Regions from separate parts of the Homo sapiens genome. Here region 2 is linked to region 1. The links are contacts of gene promoters, found by promoter capture Hi-C in human tissues and cell types (Jung and others, 2019). All regions are on one chromosome and are shown on one strand. Each heading gives the region's core, a stretch centred on a gene start or on the middle of the fragment in contact. The rest is flanking DNA. Distances are from core to core; before and after follow the strand shown. Region 1 holds the start of FAM114A1 (family with sequence similarity 114 member A1). Region 2 has its middle 19 kb from the start of WDR19.

The links. Contacts are between HindIII fragments. The study calls those that stand out against the background at their distance.
Region 2: a contact is called between a fragment that was not itself captured here and the fragment with the promoter of FAM114A1 in region 1, in 1 of the 25 tissues and cell types used here (H1 embryonic stem cells).

What each region holds. Positions count from the first base shown.
Region 1 is chr4:38,865,847-38,871,089 of GRCh38, reverse strand. FAM114A1 (family with sequence similarity 114 member A1) reads right to left here and starts at 3,284. Exons shown (of 15, transcript NM_138389.4): 1 at 3,256-3,284; 2 at 2,544-2,692. MIR574 (microRNA 574) reads right to left here and starts at 3,058; the gene lies at 2,963-3,058. It also overlaps a transcript of TLR6 not described here. RefSeq lists an enhancer at 2,150-2,733 and silencers at 2,941-2,990, 3,041-3,520. The HindIII fragment of the contact is 6,667 bases long and covers 2,890-5,243 here.
Region 2 is chr4:39,160,585-39,165,827 of GRCh38, reverse strand. No RefSeq gene overlaps it. Among named protein-coding and RNA genes, the nearest start is that of WDR19, 19 kb to the left of the region's middle. The HindIII fragment of the contact is 5,116 bases long and covers 1-5,091 here.

The DNA.
Region 1 (5,243 bases), core at 2,035-4,534:
AAAGAAAGAAAAAAAAGAAAGCCATGCAAGATCAGCTCTAATTCAATTTCTAATTGTGTGTATCTCTAATCCATATTTATCTCTACTTGTTACAGGTCTAATTTTCCCCAAATCAAAACGAAAAAAAATTATTTTTTGTTTGGTTGTTCTGGTAGAACTTTATCGACTGTGGATGCTATCATGATGGGGGAAATGTAATCATTTTTCAGACTATACCCTTTTGTATGAAACCACTAGAAACTGTGTGTTTGAAATACAGAACTGTTTCTGAGCAGGGGCTGCTGGAGTCCACCAGGATTACAGTCATGACAAGCACTGTGTTTCCTGGGACGGTTTCCATCTCCGTCTGGGTGTTCCATAAGCCAGACTTAGAAACCTTTCCTGATTTATGGTTAGGAACACTGATCACTGTAGCCATGTCTCGTGGACTGGAGGCTAGGGAGACTCAACCCACAGAAACAAGGAGGCTGCTTCAGGAAACTCTAAGGAGAGGAAGGGTGGCATATAAAGAAGCCTTTGTGGGCTGGGAATAAGTTAGTTTTTCGTGAGTAAATTCATTCATCACCTAAAATGCTCCCAGAACTATGCAAGGTATTTAAGCAGCAACATCACAGCTCCAAAAATAAGTATAAAACAGAAGACATGGTCACTATCCTTCAGAAATCAATCATCTGTTTGAGGAGCTAACACAAAACAGTTAAAAAGTGATGCAAAACAGCACAGCAAATCAAGGACAGATGTGCCTGAACTAGACTGACCCTGTGCAAGGGAGAATCTTGAAAGTGTCTTTGATGTGGTGATTCAGGCCTGGTGGGATGAGAGCATGTGCAAATGTCCAAGCATCAGCGATGGACTGTAGTGATTCAGGACAGGTGTCTGAGAGGCCAGGACATGAGGCTGCATGGAGGAATGATGAGAGGTGGGAGCGATGGTATTCTGAGGTGGAAAGAGTTGTGTCCTGCAGGCGTCAAGGGATGTGGCCTCTGGTCCCAGTATCCCTTTGTGGGCACACAACTTGATCCTCACTGTGCTTACACCTGCTCCTCTGTAAAGCTAGGATGGACAAACTGATCTGGATGCTTTTTTTTCCAAACTCCACCTGCAGGACTGGGGCAAGTCTGTGATGATAGAGAAAAATGAGGACAAGATTGCAAGTTTTTCATAAATCTAAATTTATTAAATGTAAAGGACTGCCTTCATCTTTCAAGTTTAGCCTTTGTGCTTTTTCTTGGTATTAAAATGTCTTTCATTTTATGAAATAGTGACAGTGGATGGATTTTTTTAAAAAAAATGGCCTGACTTGGCAGCATAAAAATTTGGTTAGCATGATATCCTGTGTGAGGTCATCTCCCCCAGTTAAAAAAAAAAAACAAAAACAGTGCCAGTCAGCGAAGGACCAGGAATAAAAACTCTGGATGAGAGGCTCTTAATCAGGTTGTAGCAGTTTGTATGAGTTTGTATAAAGCTTGACAAGTCTACGTACCCAGGCTCCAGCCTATTCTCTGTGAGGCTGCCAGGCATTTTTGGACCTATTTGCTCTCCTGTTCAAAAACCATTAGGTGTAAATATCTTCACACTTCCCATCATAATCCAGCTCCAATCTCTCTCCACCTCTTGCAACTCTCAGTATCCTCCACTCCTGCCTCACCAGTCTTTTCTCCATTCCCCATAACTCTTCACATCTCCCTGCCTTTGCTTACGCTGGTTCCTCTGCCCCGGTGCTGCCCTTCCTCCAGCTGCCTGGCAAACTCCTATTCCTCTAGACACCCAGTGTCTAATGTTACCTTTCATTCTGAATTTTTCCTTAATCTGCCCCACTGCTTCCAATGAAATAACTGCTACCTCTTCTATGTTTTTGGCACTTTGCACAGATTTCTATTCCATGTATTTATGGAGTATTTACTTCTGCCATTCTGTCCTCCAAGACTGTGACCAACAGCACCTAGGTTGGTTTCTGTCCCTCAGATATTTACTGAATTGAAATACATTGTGTTTGATATTAATAAAAGAGAAACCATGTTTGATGTAAGCCTGGTCAAATAAACAAAGACAAGTTTACTTTTATGGTCTGAATCGCTCAGATTCAAGAAAGCCCCCTCCAACCCTCAAATTCCTTCTGCACTGTCTCACTTGTGCCTCAAATCCATCCCTAACGTCTCATTCCTTCACTTAAAGGTTACAATGTAAGAAGTTTATCAGATTCTTTCCCAAGCTCAGGCTTGATGGAAGAAAGGAGGGCGGGGACGCAGGCCTATGGGTGGGGTAGGGAAGGAGCCACTAGGCTGCAGAGAGGGCAAAAAGAGGCTCTGAGGATAGAGCCTGTCTCATTCTCAGTTGTCACAGGTTGGCTGAGGTCACAGGGAGTTCAGAGCACACTGATTTAAGAAGCCACCTGCCTGTGTCCTTCAAGATGTTTAGGATGGGAAATGATGGGATCAGTAGGGCATAGGTAATGCTCTCACAGCCCATAGAGAGATGTCTTCCTACTTAAGAAAAGGCAGTGACGTTCAGGCGCCTGGTCTGAGGTGCCTGGAAATACTCACCGGATGGCAGAGGCGAGGGCTAGCCGACTGGGTGGAGGGGGCCTGGGGATCTGCGGTAGGGAGTGGGACCCATCCCGGGGGCTGCGAGTGGAGGCGGTGCCTGCTTAGAGTGTTGGCTGGACTGGAAGAGCAGGCAGGGCGTGGGTCGGCTGTTGGGGGAGGAGTAAGGCGAGGGGAGCGGGGAGGTCAAGGCCTGAGCTCCCTGTGCCAAGGCCGAGGGCAGGCGCACCCTGGGACGAGGCCTCTGTCTTACAGGGACCTGCTCCCTTCGTGCCCGGGCTGGGGGACCCTGCAGCCCACCTCTGACTTGGCCCCGAGCCATTGGGGGCACTTTTCCAGACTTGCTTGGTGCCAGGACTGGATACTTTGGGAGATCCAGGCAGGCTCCGCGGAGGTTCACGCAGGCCGAGGGGGCAGACCCTGAGTGTGGGCGTGTGGGTGTGTGCATGAGCGTGGACCCGGAGCGACACACACTCACACACACACACTCACACGCCCGCACCCACGCAGGTCCCTCGGCCGCGCCGCCCCAGACCCTCACCCCAGAGCCGGGTCCTCCCTGACCACTGCTTCTCACTAACGCAGAGGGCAGGATTCGTGGGTCCCGGACGAGGCGCCAAGGTATGGTGTTCCCACCACCCCCGGGCAGCCGCCCCCGCGCTCGCCCGCCCCCCGGGGAAGGGGATGGGGACCGAGTGCCCGGGGCTCTTACCGCTCAGGCGGCCGAGTACGCGCGGGAGTGCCCAGCGGGTCCCGCCCCGCCACGTCTGCAGGGCCGGCGGGGACGCGGCCGGAGGGCGGGCGGCTGGAGAGGGGGCCCCGCCCCGCCTGCGCCCCGCCCCACGAGGAGCGCCGCGGGGACGCCCGGCCACCCCCACGCTGCGAGGGCCGGGCCCGCGCTGGGCGAGTCTCCTGGAAACTTGGCTTGTCCCACCCCTGTGCCAGCGCGGAAAGCCAGAGCGCGCCGCCTCTCCAGCCCAGGGCGGGTGGGTCTCGGGGTTCGCCAGATCCCTTTCCTTTCCTTAAAAGGGCTTGGAAAACCCCCCGCCGTGTCACTGGGAAGAGGTCGCTCAAATTCAGCTAAAGTTTGATCTCCTGATTCTGCGTTAAGCAGCACTCCCTTGCCCTGTCGGTGGGAGTGTGATAGATTTAAAACAAACAAACCCCAAACAAACAACGAAAACCCACTTTCCAGAAGGCCAGTTTGGAGCTGTGGGTTAAAACTCCGATGTATTAGCTTTGGCCTAGGAATTCCACATTTGTGAATTTGTCCTAAGTAGGCAGTCAAATGGGCAAATATGTATGTACAAGGATGTTTGTTGTAGTTGTTTCTGCGGGGGGAAGCCGGAGACAATCTCAATGTCCCCCAGTAAGATTGGTGAAGTAAGCTACAGTAACTTCAGACATCGAATATGTTGTAGCCCTTAAAAATGAGGATTCGTTGACATGGAGGGAAGGCCACATATGAAGGCCTTCCTCAAATATGGCTTAATATGAACTCAGATGCGGAGGAAGCGCAGTGTTTATAGTATTAACTAGTTTTGTAAACAATTTTGTATTTTCTATAAAAGTCGGAGGAAATACAATTTAAAAATAGTGATTCTTTCTGAGCGATGTGTTTAAGGCAGATTTTCTCCTCTCTCACTCCATCCCTTCTTCTTTTTGAAGAATTATAAATTCAAAGTTAAAGAAAAAATAGCCCTAGTCTCTCCCTTTCAATATCACTACCATTTTTTATAGTGTGTGGATCCTACCATAGTTTTTCTAAGCTTATATAAATACATGTATGCATAAACAGCTTTTTGTTTGCTTTTTTATAAAAATGGCGAGATGTTGACGTATTTTGTAAATTTCCCCCTATTTATTATATATTATAATCATCTTTCTTGGTCAATACATATCAACCAAAACCACTCTTCTAAGACTTGTCTTATATATTGCAATATGTTTGTAATTATATTTCATTCAATCATTCTCCTATTGACAATTAGTTTGCTCCTTATATTCCAGTTTCTTCCATATATATATTAATTAATTTATTAATTCATTTTTTTGAGATGGAGTCTTGCTCTGTCGTCCAGGCTGGAAAGCAGTGGCGTGATCTCAGCTCACTGCAGCCTCTGCTTACTGGGTTCAAGCAATTCTCCTGCCTCAGCCTCTTGAGTAGCTGGGATTACAGGTGCGTGCCACCACACCCGGCTAATTTTTGTATTTTTTAGTAGAGACGGGGTTTCACCATGTTGGCCAGGCTGGTCTCGAACTCCTGACCTCAGGTGATCCACCCACCTCGGCCTCCCAAAGTGCTGGGATTACAGGCATGAGCCACCGTGCCTGGCTATATTTCTTATTTAATATTTTTATTAAATATTTTTATATTAATAATTTTTTAAGCTACTGAATATTTATTTTATTTTATTTTTTAGGAGGACAGAGTCTTGATCTGTGGCCTAGGCTGCAGTGCAGTGGCACCATCTCCATCTCCTGGGTTCAAGCGATTCTTCTGCCTCAGCCTCTTGAGTAGCTGGGATTACAGGTGCGTGCCACCACACCCGGCTAATTTTTGTGTTTTCAGTAGAGACAGGGTTTTGCCATGGTGGCAAGGCTGGTCTCGAACTCCTGACCTCAAGTGATCTGCCCACCTCGGCCTCCCAAAGTGTTGGGATTACAGGCGTGAGCCACCACACCCAGCCTGTCATTTTT
Region 2 (5,243 bases), core at 1,284-3,783, 300 kb before region 1:
GAATTGATGGCATTTATTAGCTAGGAATTGGCCATCAAGATACTTATTGATAAAAGAAACTCCTTGTATTAGCTAGCTAAAAAATGAAAGAATGGATATAATTTTGCTCTTTTCATATAAGAATTACCTATTCTTTAACCTGTATAATTTTTTCCAGTTGCTTAGTGCTTTTGCAGCACTCATTTTTAGTGTAATGTGTTTCGTGTTTCTTAGGAATGTGGTGGACCACCTTGGTCAGCAGAAGGGAAAATAGGGGTAGCAGTAAGATCCACTAAAAAGAGTGTAATAATTTTTAGTGTGGCTGTTTCCTTCCTTTTTTTCACCATTTCTTCCCTTCCCTTCTTCCTCCTCATAAACCCTTTCCCCCTCCCCACAAGAAGACAATACATGTTAGCAACTTAATATGAATTCTGCCATACTTTTCCTCTATGGTCATAAACCATAAATGTGGCACACACATGTATATGTGTTTGTGTGTGTGTATCCATATATGTAATGGTGTTTTTGTGGCACTGTTGAACAAATGGTAATGTATACACATTTTTTTTTTTCTGTATCTTACCTTTCTCATTCAATAATATCTTCTGGATATTCCTCCAAATCCCATTTCATCTTTCCCCTGTGGCATCCACTTTATGCTCAGGGTTTTGCTACTAGAACATTGAGGTCCTTATAGATATTTTTAACATAATCATACTTTTATTTCTTTGGAATAAATTCCCATGAGTAGAATTGTTGGGCTGAGGAGTATATGTATTTTTAATTTTAATAGATTTATCAGAGTGATTTTCAAAAAGATTATAATGCTTAATGCTCCCACTAGCAACTTATGAAAGTACTTTTCCTTCACTTTCTCACCAGAAACGATCAACAATTTTCATAGGTTCTCTTAATTTTTGCTAGTCTGATAGGAATAAAGTTTCATTCTTACTTTAACTTGCATTTCCCTGAGAGCTAATGAATTTGAACACTTTTCATATGTTTGTTGGCTATTTCAATTTGTTCTTCTGCTATCTAACTTTATGGAGTTGTTTTTCTTTTTTTATTGTCAATTTGTAAGAGCTCTTTTTCATATTCTTGTGTAGTTAAACATGTCTATTTTAAAAATAGCTACTTGGTTTCTAGTCTTGGCTTTGAAGTTTTTATCTGTTTATAGGAGACTTTATTGAATGATTTTAATTTTTTTACACTTAAGTCTTTAATATAGAATTAGTTTTTACATATGGTATAAGATGCAGATCTTCTTTTATACTAAACTCAGCCCAAACTCCTCTCCAGACCTTCACCCGGGGTAGAGAGCTTGCTACCTCCTAATTGTGTTAAAATACCACATATATTTTTATTATACTCAGGAGGGGGTCCTATGGCCAGGACACCTTATATTTATTTAGTGTATCAATCCGTTTTCATGCTGCTGATATAGACATACCCGAGACTGGGAAGAAGAAGAGGTTTAATGGACTTACAGTCCCACAGGGCTGGGGAGGCCCCACAATCATGGCAGAAGGCAAGGAGGAGCAAGTCGCATCTTCAGTGGATGGCGGCAGGCAGAGAGAGAGCTTGTGCAGGGGAACCCCTCTTTATAAAACCATCAGATCGCGTGAGACTTATTCACTATCATGAAAACAGCACCAGAAAGACCCGCCCCCATGATTCAATTACCTTTCACTGGCACTGGGTCCCTCCCACGACACGTAGGAATTGTGGGAGTAACAATTCAAGATGAGATTTGGGTGAGGACACAGCCAAACCATATCAATTAATTCAGTCTCAGAAGAAATCTTTCCAGAAAGTCAAACTGATGCTCTACTTTTGGCCTAGAATTCTGGTAGAGGCAAGAATGTAAACATTCCACATTAGTCTCCTCTTTATTCTGTCTTTTTTTTTTTTTTTTTGGTTAGATTTTGTTTTTTTGTTTTCTATAAGGTCTTAGTAACTTACATAATTCCCCTACTTTCACTGACTTTATTCTATTTTTATTAACTAACCTTACATTTCTCCCTCTTCTTAATCATTTTCCTTATGATTAATATTGCCCACTCAACAATCCTTAGTCCTACCAAAGGACTTTTTTTGGAAGTCTTTTAGGAATGCTAGAACTTACTGATATACTATACCCATTGTTATCTTTTTTATTATATTATAAAATTCTACTATCTTAGTTTTTCATTTTTACTATTCACTTTTACCTCAAGTTTGATAAATATTACATAATAAATAAAAATTACATAATAATAAATTGACCATAATAATATGGTCAATTTAACATATTTTCAAGAAATTGGCTGAGACATTTTTCAAGCTTGTGAACATAATTTTTTCAACATTGCAAAAACCTAGTAACTAAACGAAGCTGGTAGATAATGACCATTGCACATTTGATCTTTAAACATGATATTAAACATCACATTTGGGTTCTTAAAAAATTTATTTTTGTGCATTGCCTTACAATACATATTTATATTTTAAGTGTTTCTATTGTAAAATGATAAGACTTGCTTAAGGACCACATGGTGTAATAGCAAATTGAACTTGGTCATGAACCTCTACTTTAAACCCAGTTCATGGAACTTACTGATTCTTTGACCTTGGGAAAATTATCTCCTCTGAACCTGTGCTCCCATGTATAAAATAGGAATAAAAATGTTTATGGAATTTAGTTTTAGAGACAATTTAATCAGTTAAAAAGAAAGAGAAAAGAAAACAAAATCCAATTATCAATGTATATTACTTTTTTTGCATATTTCCTTCTGGTTTTTGCCCCTATGTATATCTATTTTACTATGTATTTATGAATATGGTATATGTGTATATTTAACACGTTTATTTAGGTCAAATAAAAAATTTAACACATTTATTATGCTGTTCAGTATCGAGCAATAAAAAAGCATATAATCTTAAATAGATTTTTAGTTTTCTCATAACAAATAAGTCAACTTATTTGCATTTCAAATTGCAGTTCCTGGCTGATGCTGATTTTGCTGGTCCAGGGAGCACACTTTGAGGTCACTGATCCCTAGATAATTGTTTCCAAAATCCCATTCACTTTTTGTCATATGAGTTATATGAAAAACAGCATGTATTTTTTAATATTGATTGTTTATGAAGCAACAAATCTTTTCCTATTATATGCCTTCTGAAAGTCACTTTTCAGTTTATTATTTTTAAGCTGCAAGATGCATTTGATATTTTATATAATTTTATTGTCTTATATCATTTTATAATTTTAAAATTAGGGACCCTGATTACTGCCTCATTTTCTGATTTTTATTATGTATTCTGTTTTTTCTCGTTAGGCTGACAGAATAGATAAGAAGATTTCAGTAGGTAGATATAAGGGAAGGGATATTTAGAGGTAATGAGGTAGAGTGGAAAACACAGACAAACTGATCTGAACTCAGTAATAATCCTTTAATAACTTGGAAATAACTTTCTCAGCTTCACTTTTCTTGTCTATAATACAGCTAATAATATCCACTTTAGAGGGTTGTTAAAAAGATGAGATAACATATATGATGGTTGCTAGCCATGCGTGGTCTATAGTAGGCACTCAATAAGTAATAGGTGAGGTAATGTTGTTACTGTTATTAAGCAACGAGAAGTTCAAGGTTGAAATTGTTTTTTATTTCAACATTATAATTCATGTATATCGCAATAAATCTTGATAAAAATAAAGGTATAATACCCATCAAACTAATAAAAAACATTTTCTAGGTTGAAAAATGACAGATGCAATTTCTTCAAAAAAGAAAATGTATGGAGGAGAATATCCAGACAGTGATGACAGGAAGCAATAGAGATTACACAAGATCGGAGTAAAATGTTCATAATTGTTAAAGCTGGGGGATAATCACATGGGAATTTATTATACTATTGTGTCTATTCTTATGTATGCCTGAACGTTTTCATAATAAAAAGTTTCAGGCTGGGCGCAGTGGCTCACGCCTGTAATTCCAGCCCTTTGAGAGTCCAAGGCAGGAGGATTGCTTGAGCCCAGGAATTTAAAACCAGCCTGGGCAGCATAGTGAGACCCTGCCTCTACAAAAAAATTTAAAAATTAGCTGGGTGGGCTGGGTGTGGCGGCTCATGCCTGTAGTCCCAGCACATTGGAAGACCGAAGCTGGTGGATCACTTGAGCTCACAAGTTCAAGACCAGCCTAGGCAACATGACGAAACCCCATTTCTACAAAAAATACCAAAAAAAAAAAAAAAAAGAAGAAAGAAGGAAGGAAGGAAGGAAAAGAAAAAATTAACTGGATGTGGTGGGTCACGCCTGTAGTCCCAACTACTTGGGAGGCTGAGGTGGGAGAATCGCTTGAACCCAGGAGGTGGAGGTTGCAGTGAGCCAAGATCATGCCACTGCACTCCAGCCTGGGTGACTGCAGTGAGACCTTGTCTCATAAAAACAAAAAAACCCCACAAAATTATTTTAAAATCAATGCTCTCATTTAACAAACATTTTCTGAGCATTTATCAAGTGCCTTGCTCTACATCGAACTGTACTTCAATCCTATTGCTGTTACTGAGGTGTGAAGGAAGTGTGGAGCATAGGACGGGTTTAATATCAATGGATTGAGGGTATGTGGAAAGAATCAGGAAAAGCTTATAATGTTGAAGATATGGGCTTTGAAGAACGAGTAGGGTTTGGTTGGATGGAAAAGAGATTAGAATGGGTATTCCAGAGAGAGAACAATCTAAACAAAGGCATGGCGATATGAAAGTCCTGGCATTTTCCATGATTGATGCCTTTTCTAATATGCAGGCCTGTGGGAGCTGAGGCTGGAAGGACCTTGTATGTCATGCTGAGAAGTCTGGACTACATGTCTTCAACTGAAGGTTTTCGAGGAGAGGGATGTGATTGGATATGTGTTGTAGAAAGATAACTTTGCTTTTTAAGAAAACAACTTTATTGAGGTATAGTTGATATATAATAAACTACACATACAATTGCTGAGTTTGGACATATGCACATACCTGTAAAACTATCAACACAATCAAGGTAATAGACATAAGAAAGATAACTTTGATTACGAGTTTGAGAAAAGATCGGAAGAATAAGACGCTAGAGACAGACTAGTTACGACACTTAGAACCTATTGAAATAAGAACTAATTTAAGGACTTTATGAGTATTGGCAGTAGAAATGGAAGGGTGAAGACAAGTTCAAGACATTTTCTGGGTAGAAATTTGACCTAAGATTGAAGTAGGGAGCTATACTGTCCTCCACAGTGTAAACTAAGTTG